Linked DNA regions of Homo sapiens: regions 1 and 2 are each linked to region 3. The links are contacts of gene promoters, found by promoter capture Hi-C in human tissues and cell types (Jung and others, 2019). All regions are on one chromosome and are shown on one strand. The core of a region is centred on a gene start or on the middle of the fragment in contact, and the rest is flanking DNA. Distances in the headings are between cores, read along the strand shown.

Evidence for each region. Contacts are between HindIII fragments. The study calls those that stand out against the background at their distance.
Region 1: a contact is called between a fragment that was not itself captured here and the fragment with the promoter of ARFRP1 in region 3, in 1 of the 25 tissues and cell types used here (dorsolateral prefrontal cortex).
Region 2: a contact is called between a fragment that was not itself captured here and the fragment with the promoter of ARFRP1 in region 3, in 2 of the 25 tissues and cell types used here (IMR-90 fibroblasts and heart right ventricle).

Annotation. Positions count from the first base shown.
Region 1 is chr20:63,933,165-63,935,864 of GRCh38, reverse strand. DNAJC5 (DnaJ heat shock protein family (Hsp40) member C5) reads right to left here. Exons shown (of 5, transcript NM_025219.3): 5 at 1-2,700. Among named protein-coding and RNA genes, the nearest start is that of MIR1914, 7.0 kb to the left of the region's middle. The HindIII fragment of the contact is 5,774 bases long and covers 1-2,700 here.
Region 2 is chr20:63,913,284-63,915,983 of GRCh38, reverse strand. All of the region lies in intron 1 of DNAJC5 (DnaJ heat shock protein family (Hsp40) member C5), which reads right to left. Among named protein-coding and RNA genes, the nearest start is that of MIR941-1, 4.8 kb to the left of the region's middle. The HindIII fragment of the contact is 7,543 bases long and covers 1-2,700 here.
Region 3 is chr20:63,706,650-63,709,388 of GRCh38, reverse strand. ARFRP1 (ARF related protein 1) reads left to right here and starts at 1,413. Exons shown (of 8, transcript NM_001267547.3): 1 at 1,413-1,522; 2 at 2,292-2,390; 3 at 2,651-2,738. The coding sequence starts at 2,298. It overlaps ZGPAT (zinc finger CCCH-type and G-patch domain containing), which reads right to left and starts at 1,350. Exons shown (of 7, transcript NM_181485.3): 1 at 1,271-1,350; 2 at 225-836. The coding sequence starts at 808. RefSeq lists silencers at 1,078-1,237, 1,278-1,337, 1,758-1,997, 2,088-2,137 and enhancers at 465-1,425, 2,288-2,347. The HindIII fragment of the contact is 11,218 bases long and covers 1-1,962 here.

The DNA of each region.
Region 1 (2,700 bases), core at 197-2,696, 230 kb before region 3:
GGATTCCAGGACGCCAGTGACAAAACCAGTGCATGGACAAGCAGCTTCCATGCGTGTGCATTTGATTTTTAAAAACAATACATATTTCAGTGTTAACTTCCCCCCTCACCTGGCTTGAAACATTTTCCCCATTTTCCAGGGAAACAAACTCTACCAAAAGGTGCCGCCTGCAGGACCCCGGGCCCAGCCCCTTCTGGAGGTGGTGCTGTGTGGACTCCTCTGGGGCGGACCCGGGGCCAGCACAGGGCCCCTTCCCAGGCCGCCCTTCAGATGCAGCTTTGCCACTGACCGTATCTGCTGCTCAGAAAATCAGCTTTCATGTTTCAAGGCAGGGAAGGGCTTCCAGTCCCCTCCTCGATTTCACACCGGGACACACACCTGGGTCAGGTGAGCATGACACACAGCCCCCAGGATGGGCACCCCACCCTGCAGAGCAGAGGCCAATGCTGGTGGGGGCCGTGGCAGTGCCCTGGGCACACACCCTCTGCACACAGTGGGCTCAGCGCTTCCTTCTGTGCACCTGCTGGGAAAGCCTCCTGCAGGTCCCTGCCCGACTCCCAAGAAACCAGAGGCCATTTCAGAGCCACCTTTAATTGTACTTGTCACTTCACCAGGGGACAGCAGCATGAATGACACTCCTGCTGCGTGATATATACATATACACATATGTACACACACGGACACACCACAGCCCACACTCACAGCATGTGACGACGCAAACTGTTGCTGGTAAGGACAGTAAAAATGTAGCTTTTGCCAATTCCACAGGAGAATGATTTACAACCAAAATAACAGACACAGGCCAGTCCTGCGCCACAGGGGTTCACAGCTCTGAATACTGGGAAAGGGTGAGATCAGTCATTTCGTGTCCCCTCACGAGATGTCCCCACAGTAGGATGCACTGAGTCAGAGCTAAGGGAGGGTGGACAAGCGCTGAACTCTGCCCGCAGCACCCGGACCCTCCAGTGGCAGCCTGCATGCTGGTGCCCTTCCTTGCAGCACAAGCCTCGCCCGGAACAGAACGCCTGAGAGCAGCCTCGACGGCGTGAGGCTCCAGGGCCTCTTCTGGATGGCAGCAGCCGACGTGAAGACGAAGCTTTTCCTGCTGGGCACGTGTGCATGCCAGTTCCTTTTTCTAGTAGGTCCCCACTGGGTGCTGGCTGCACTAACAACATAGAGAACTAGGAAAGTTCACAAACACTGAGCAGTAATATCTAAAGCAGTTTAAAAATAAAGCCAAAAGGAAGACAAAAAAATCCCACGTCACTGAGTGGAGACAAATCTATACAGCAGCAGCTGCCGTGAAAGGGCCCGCAGGGCCGCTCCTACGCCTCCTGCAGGTCGGAAGCAGTCAGTGCTGCCCGGACCCCCTCGTGAACCGGACGGGCCTCAAAGCACGACCCCAGAGGGCCCCTGGCAGCCCCCAGCAGCGGCGTCCAAAGGGACATTCTGTGCCCATGGCCACACTTGCTCACAGCATTGTCTGCGGCCCGAGAGTGAGGAGTCGGGGTCCCGTCACTGCCACCAGCAAAAGCAGGCAGGGGTGCTGGGGGCGTCCTGATCTGTTAGCACGTGGACAGGGAGGCGCGGAAGCTGCCCCAGGACTCACCACCTCTTTTAATTATAGGGAAACAGTCCACTCAAGAAAGAGAGAAATAAAACCCGGGAGGATCTTTTTCCTTAAATTAAGACAAAGCCTTAAAGCCAACAGGGCAGAGCGCTGAAAACGGTTCTGCTTCTAGGTCAGGCAGGGGGAGGAACTCCAGGCCCCGAGTGTCTGGGCTTCCCGGGGGTCGTCTAATCACAATCACCACCGTGAGAATGGCCACAACCATGATTTATTAGGTTTTACAGATTCTGCAGGGGACTGGGTTCCACAAACCTCCAGACCTGCTCCTCTTTCCCACCCTACCCCACCTTCCGCAGGGAGCTGCATGGTTCTACAAAATGGTCCACTGGACTCTGTAACTGAAAAGCCACCTGGCAAGGGGCCCACTCTGATGGGTACCGAAGGGCCTTGGAGTGTTCTAGCCACAGAGCTGTGTGCAGGCCCAACAGAGGGCCTGGTGGGGCTGAGCTAGGGCCCCCGATGGGCAGCTTTCTACCTTAGGTCCAAGCTTAGAACCTGGCTCTTGGCCAGTCTGCGGAAAAATAACTCACGTCCTAAGCTACATCTACAAAAATTGCAAAGGCTGAGTACAGCCAGCATCTCAGGCTGAACTTGCTGCTGCACGAAGCGGCACGGAGGCACCCCACTGTCTCGCCACCTCACCTTTCAGGATGGGCCAAACAATGAATTTCTTATTCTTTTAGGAGAGGTCTGATTTTGATAAATTATTTCTAATTTAATATCACAGTGCATATCTCTCCTCTTGTCAAAGGTCTTCGTGATCATTTTAGTGAGAAGAAACAAAGAAAAGTGGGACAAACAAAGCTGCCCAGGACCTAGTGCTGGCAGCCGGCTCATGGTCCACATGCGGATCTGCAGTAGGGGTCAGCTGGGGGCCCTCAACCAGCACCCTGTTCCTAAGCACGTCCAGATGTATCCTCATATCCATGTCCCTTTTGGCAGCTTCCTGGTCAACCTGAACCTACCCTTCTGCACAGCCTCGGGTGGCTGCTGAGGGCAATGAGTGAGCTGGGGCCACGGGTCAGCAGGCAGGCAGGGAAGGGGGCTTCAGGAGGCTCATCTGGTTGGTC
Region 2 (2,700 bases), core at 168-2,667, 210 kb before region 3:
CCAGTCTGAGTGACAAAGCGAGACTCTGCCTCAAAATATTAATAATAATGACATGGGTTTGTATTTTATGTTCTGTGATTTCCTTTACTAGCTAGTCACTTTTGTTGTAGTTTACAAAAATATCATCAGTCTGTGACACTGGAAATTTTAAAAACTTAAACCTTGTCCTTCAGCACAAACAGTCGAGGAAGAATTCTTCTGGTGTATACCTAAGAGTGGAACTTCTGGGTGCCCAAGAATGGGCAGGCTCAGCCTGAGGCGGTGTGCCAACTGCTCTCTGAGGACTGCACCAGTGGCCACTGGAACTTAGGGCTCCCTGCCATTCCTGCAGCCTCAACAATGACTGGTACGGCCAGGCTCCCCAGTGCTTGCCTGGCCTGATAAGGGTAGGCGTCTCCAGCCTACCTTCAAGGCCGTTCTGTCTGTGGTGCCCAGTGGACATATCCAGGACACCGACCCTTCACTGGTTAAAAATGTTACAAGTATCTTCCAGTTCACAGTTCTTTTTTTACTTATTATGGTGTGTCTTTTGATGAGCACAAGCTTTTTTTTTTTTTTTTACCAATTGTAGTAAAAAACATATAACATTAAATTCAGCATCTGAACCGTTTAAATGCCCCAGTGTTCACTACACGCCCGTCGCTGAACAACAGCCCTCCTCCAAGTCACCTTTGAGGTCACAGAATATATTACAGCTTTCTGAATCTCTCAATCTGTTTTTCCCCTTTTTTGTTCAAGAAATCCTTCCTGACCCTAAGGTCCTATTCTATCTTCTGACACTTGTCACCCACAGGAATCTGCTTCATCAGGAGTTGGCCTGGGCTTGGCAAGAGATACGGACCAGCTCCTATCTGCCTGAGGCCCACCCAGTGCCCCAGGTCCCAGGAGCATCCATGGAGCAGCCCGTCTCTCCCTGGGACCCACAGGTGCCTCTGGCTTACTGCAAACCTCCACGCAGGAGGCCTATCAGGGGCTCTCCATTTTGCTCCATTTTGAGCGTTCTTTATTTAAAAACCTCTGAAATTATCTGAGGCCATTTCCAAAACTTTTACAAAAGCTACACACTCTGGCCGGGCGTGGTGGTTCACACCTGTAATCCCAACATTTTGGTAGGCCGAGGAGGGCAGATCACCTGAGGTCAGGAGTTTGAGACCAGCCTGGGCAACACAGTGAAACCCCATCTCTGCTAAAAATACAGAAATTAGCAGGGCGTGGTGGCAGGTGCCTGTAATCCCAGCTACTCAGCAGGCTGAAGCAGAAGAATCGTTTGAACTAGGGAGGTGGAGGCTGCAGTGAGCCAAGATCACGCCACCACACTCCAGCCTGGGCGACAGAGCGAGACTCCATCTACCAAAAAAAAAAAAAAAGGCCGGGCACGGTGGTTCATGCCTGTAATCCCAGCACTTTGGGAGGCCGAGGCGGGTGGATCACGAGGTCAGGAGATCGAGACCATCCTGGGTAACGTCGTGAAACCCCGTCTCTACAAAAAATACCAAAAAAAATTAGCCAGGTATGGTGGTAGGCGCCTGTAGTCCCAGCGACTCGGAAGACTGAGGCGGGAGAATCGCGTGAACCCAGGAGGGGGAGCTTGCAGTGAGCGGAGATCGCGCCACTACACTCCAGCCTGGGCAACAGAGCAAGACTCCGTCTCAAAAAAGCTAAAAATTCTTTGGCATTTCTAACCACATCATAGATAATAGTACTTAAAATAATATTTCAACATAAGCATTCCATTATGAAGCCCAGAAGGGTTTTAACAACAATTACAAGGTAAACCCTGTGGGTCACAGCACCTCCACGGTTCTGAGTTCTGGGCTGTAAGGACTGAAGTCTGGGCGCCACTTTCACCAAGAGACAGAAGCAGGCGTCAGGGCTGCTCTAAGGTACTCGGCCAACGGTGAGCGTCCCGGCTTCTCACTACTGCCTCGCTCTCTCCCCAGCCTCCTGTGGTCCCCCCAAGATGGTGGCTGGGCAGGTGGCCTCAAGAGACACTGCCTGAGGGGTGGGAGGATGGAGTGCTCAGAGAGAGACATTCCAGGCCACAAAGATCACACATCCTGCAATGGACGGTCTGAATATACAGATGCTAAGAAGGTGGCTGTTAGGGCCTGGCGCGGTGGCTCACGCCTGCAATCCCAGCACTTTGGGAGGCCAAGGTGGGCGGATCCCCTGAGGTCAGGAGTTTGAGACCAGGTGGTCAACATGGTGAAACCCTATCTGTACTAAAAATACAAAATTAGCTGGGCGTGGTCGTAGGTGCCCGCAATCCCTACTGTAAGCTACTTGGGAGGCTGAGGCAGGAGAATCACTTGAACCCAGGAGGTGGAGGTTGCAGTGAGCCAAGATGGCACCACTGCACTCCAGCTTGGGCAACAAAGAGACCCTGTCTCAACAATAAATAAAAAATAAAAATACAAAAATCAGCCAGGTATGGTAGTGCACGCCTATAGTCCCAGCTACTCAGAAGACTGAGGCGGGAGAATCACTTGAACCCAGGAGGCAGAGGCTGCAGTGAGCTGAGACCGCACCACTGCACTCCAGCCTGGGCAACAGAGCGAGACTCTGTCTCACTAAAAAAAAAAAAAGAAAGAAAAAAAACAGGCTGTTAGGAACCCTGGACCCTGGGGCAAGGGGAACAACTCTAGAAAGAACAGATGACGTCTGAGGAGAAGCGGGAGGAGAGGGAAGGAGACAACAGGT
Region 3 (2,739 bases), core at 164-2,663:
TGGGATTACAGGCGTGAGCCACCGCGCCTGGCCTCCTTCCATGCTTCTTGATTCACCCCAGAAGGAAGACGTAGACGCCTGAACACAGACACAGCTGTCAAAGCACGCCTGCCCCAGGAAGCTGAGACAAAACTGCAAAGCAAAGGGAGGGCCGATCCTGACCCGACCCTGTGTGCGTGCCCCTTACGCCCCTAAGGTTGGCATCTGACAACAAAGGGCTTTACCTGCAGTTCTCCTTAAAGCGGCACTTTCCCTCCAGGAAGAACGGGCACGGCTTCAGAGACTTGTGAGTGGGGTACAGGTAAAGCACACGGACACCCGCCGAGCCATCCTCCGCCTCTTCCGTTCCCACCACCATGGCGTTGTGATACTCCAGAGTGCCCCAGGAGCTGTAGTAGGGCGCGCTCACCTTTGTCCCACTCAGCTCTTCCTCGTCCTCTCCCTCTTCCTCCTCCTGCCCACCTGCCGCAGATTCTGGCCCCGCCTCTGCTTTAGGAACGGTCTCTGATCCGGACCCACGGGCCGCTGCTGGTGCCTCCACCGCCTCAGTGATGGCCTCCCGGAAAGCCTGGTACTCAGCATCTTCCTGGCGGCCCGGGCGCTCTTCGTCCAGCGCGGCCAACAAGCTGCTCTTCCTGACAGACACCAGGCTGGCCTCGGTGAGCTCGATGAGCTCCTTCAGGTCCCCCTGCAGCTGGCGCAGGTCAGCCTGCTCAGACGAATCCAGGCCGGCGCCCAAGGCCAGCTCCACCTGCTGCAGCTGCGCACGGTAGGTCTGCAAGGCCGACTCCAGGCTCTCCTCGTCCATGCTGAGAGAGGGAGGCGCTGGACCAGGGCTGCAAGAAGAGAAGCCAGCTGAGCCCCGCGTCTCGGGACCGACCCCACAGCCTGAGGGCGGGCACGGGCACGGGCACGTCCCCTTTCCCTCGGGGAGACACCGGCTCAGAGGCACAGCTCCCAGCGCAGAGGTCGCAGCCCGGGTACCCCCGCTCAGGCTCCGCGCTTCCCTTCCGAGCCGCCGTGGGCTCGCCGCTAGCCGGGTCCCGCGTCACTCCGGAGCCCCTTCCCCGCGGGGCGCCCCGCCGCCTCACCCTCCGCCGAGCCCACCCGCCGCGCCCGCCGCCTTCCAGGCCGGCCGCGCCCCCCCGCCCGGCGTCTCTTCTGTCTGGCCAGGGCCGCGTCCCCGCAAACCGCGGCCACCTGGTCCCCGGCCGGGCACCTCCTCCGCGCGGTTTCCCAGCCGCAGCCACAGAGAGCCCGCCGGCCTCACCGGCTAGAGCGGCCCGGCGCCCCCTTTTCGCCCCAGCAGCCGATCGGCACTTCCTCCCGAGCGCCGCCGCTTCCGGAAGTGCTTGGCGCGCGGGGGCAGCCGGGAAGCGGAGCGCGGAGGCCGCTGGGACGCGGTTCAGCTCATTCCCTGAGGCCGGCCCGCGTCCCGTCAGGCGCCGCGCGGGGTTAGCGCGGGGTCAGCGGAGGTCAGCGGGGGTCAGCAGCAGCGGCTCCGAGGGCGCGGCGGACGCAGGTAGGCCGCAGGCTGTGCGGTGAGGCGCGAGGCCCGAGGGGCGGCCCAGGACTCGAGGTGGGACGCGGGTGTGACAGGAGCCAGCTTTGGCTGCTTGTCGGGGAGCCTCAGACCTGGCGGCGGCGGCTTGGGGCGGACGTAGCCGGGGGCCGCGACCCAGGTTCTTCCTTCGCAGTCGTTCCCTGCCAGCCGCGCGCCGCCTCCAGGTGCACTCCAGGAGCAGCCGCGCCGCTGCTCACCCGCCCTGTAGTCCGCTCCCCCCAGGGCCGTCCCCGTTTTAAGAAATGGGGTGATGGGGCGTCCCTACCCGGCGCCTGCAGGGGCTCCTGGGGAGCGCGCCGGTGGCTCGCTGCTCCCGGGTGGGGCGCGGGGCTGGCGCTCGAGGGTGCCGTGGCCCAGGCGGGGCTGCAGCGAGTGTGTTCCCCGTTCCGCGCGCGTGAAGCGTGGGAGCGAAGCCTCGGGGGAGGGCGGGAGCGCGGCTGAGCTCACTGTGAACACCCGGCTGGGTAGTCCCGCGAGCAGGGGAGGGGCCGGAACCGATGTGTATGCGGAGAGGTCGCAGTCATTGCTGTGAGCAGGACACAGTGGCGGCTGACCTGGGAGAAGTTACAGAGGGACGGGGTGGGAGAGGGACGAGGAGTCGGGAATGGCCCCCAGGCTCTCGTCCTGAGCGGTCGGCTGGACGTGGGGCGCCACTGACCACCGTGGAGAAGCCCGGGGGAGGGGAGGTGCTTTCTGGCTGCACACTGACCTATGTTGGGGTGCCCAGGGCAGGATGTACACGCTGCTGTCGGGCTTGTACAAGTACATGTTTCAGAAGGACGAGTACTGCATCCTGATCCTGGGCCTGGACAATGCTGGGAAGACGGTGAGTGCCCACGCCCTTGCGCGCACCTTTCCCACGGCCTGGCGGCGCCCCCTTCGGTTTTGTGCTGTCAGCTGCACGTTCACTACCCAGACGGAAGCCAAATTTCACCTGAGACGGCAGGATAGTCACCACCAGCCTCCTGAAGAGCAGAGTGTTGCTCTGTTTCTGTTTCTGTCTTTTAAAGAACAGACCTGAGTAAGGATATTTGGAAGCCAGTATAGCCCCTCCTTGATGTGTTTCGCCTCTGCCTCTCTCCTCAGACCTTCCTGGAGCAGTCGAAAACCCGATTTAACAAGAACTACAAGGGGATGAGTCTATCCAAAATCACCACCACCGTGGGCCTAAACAG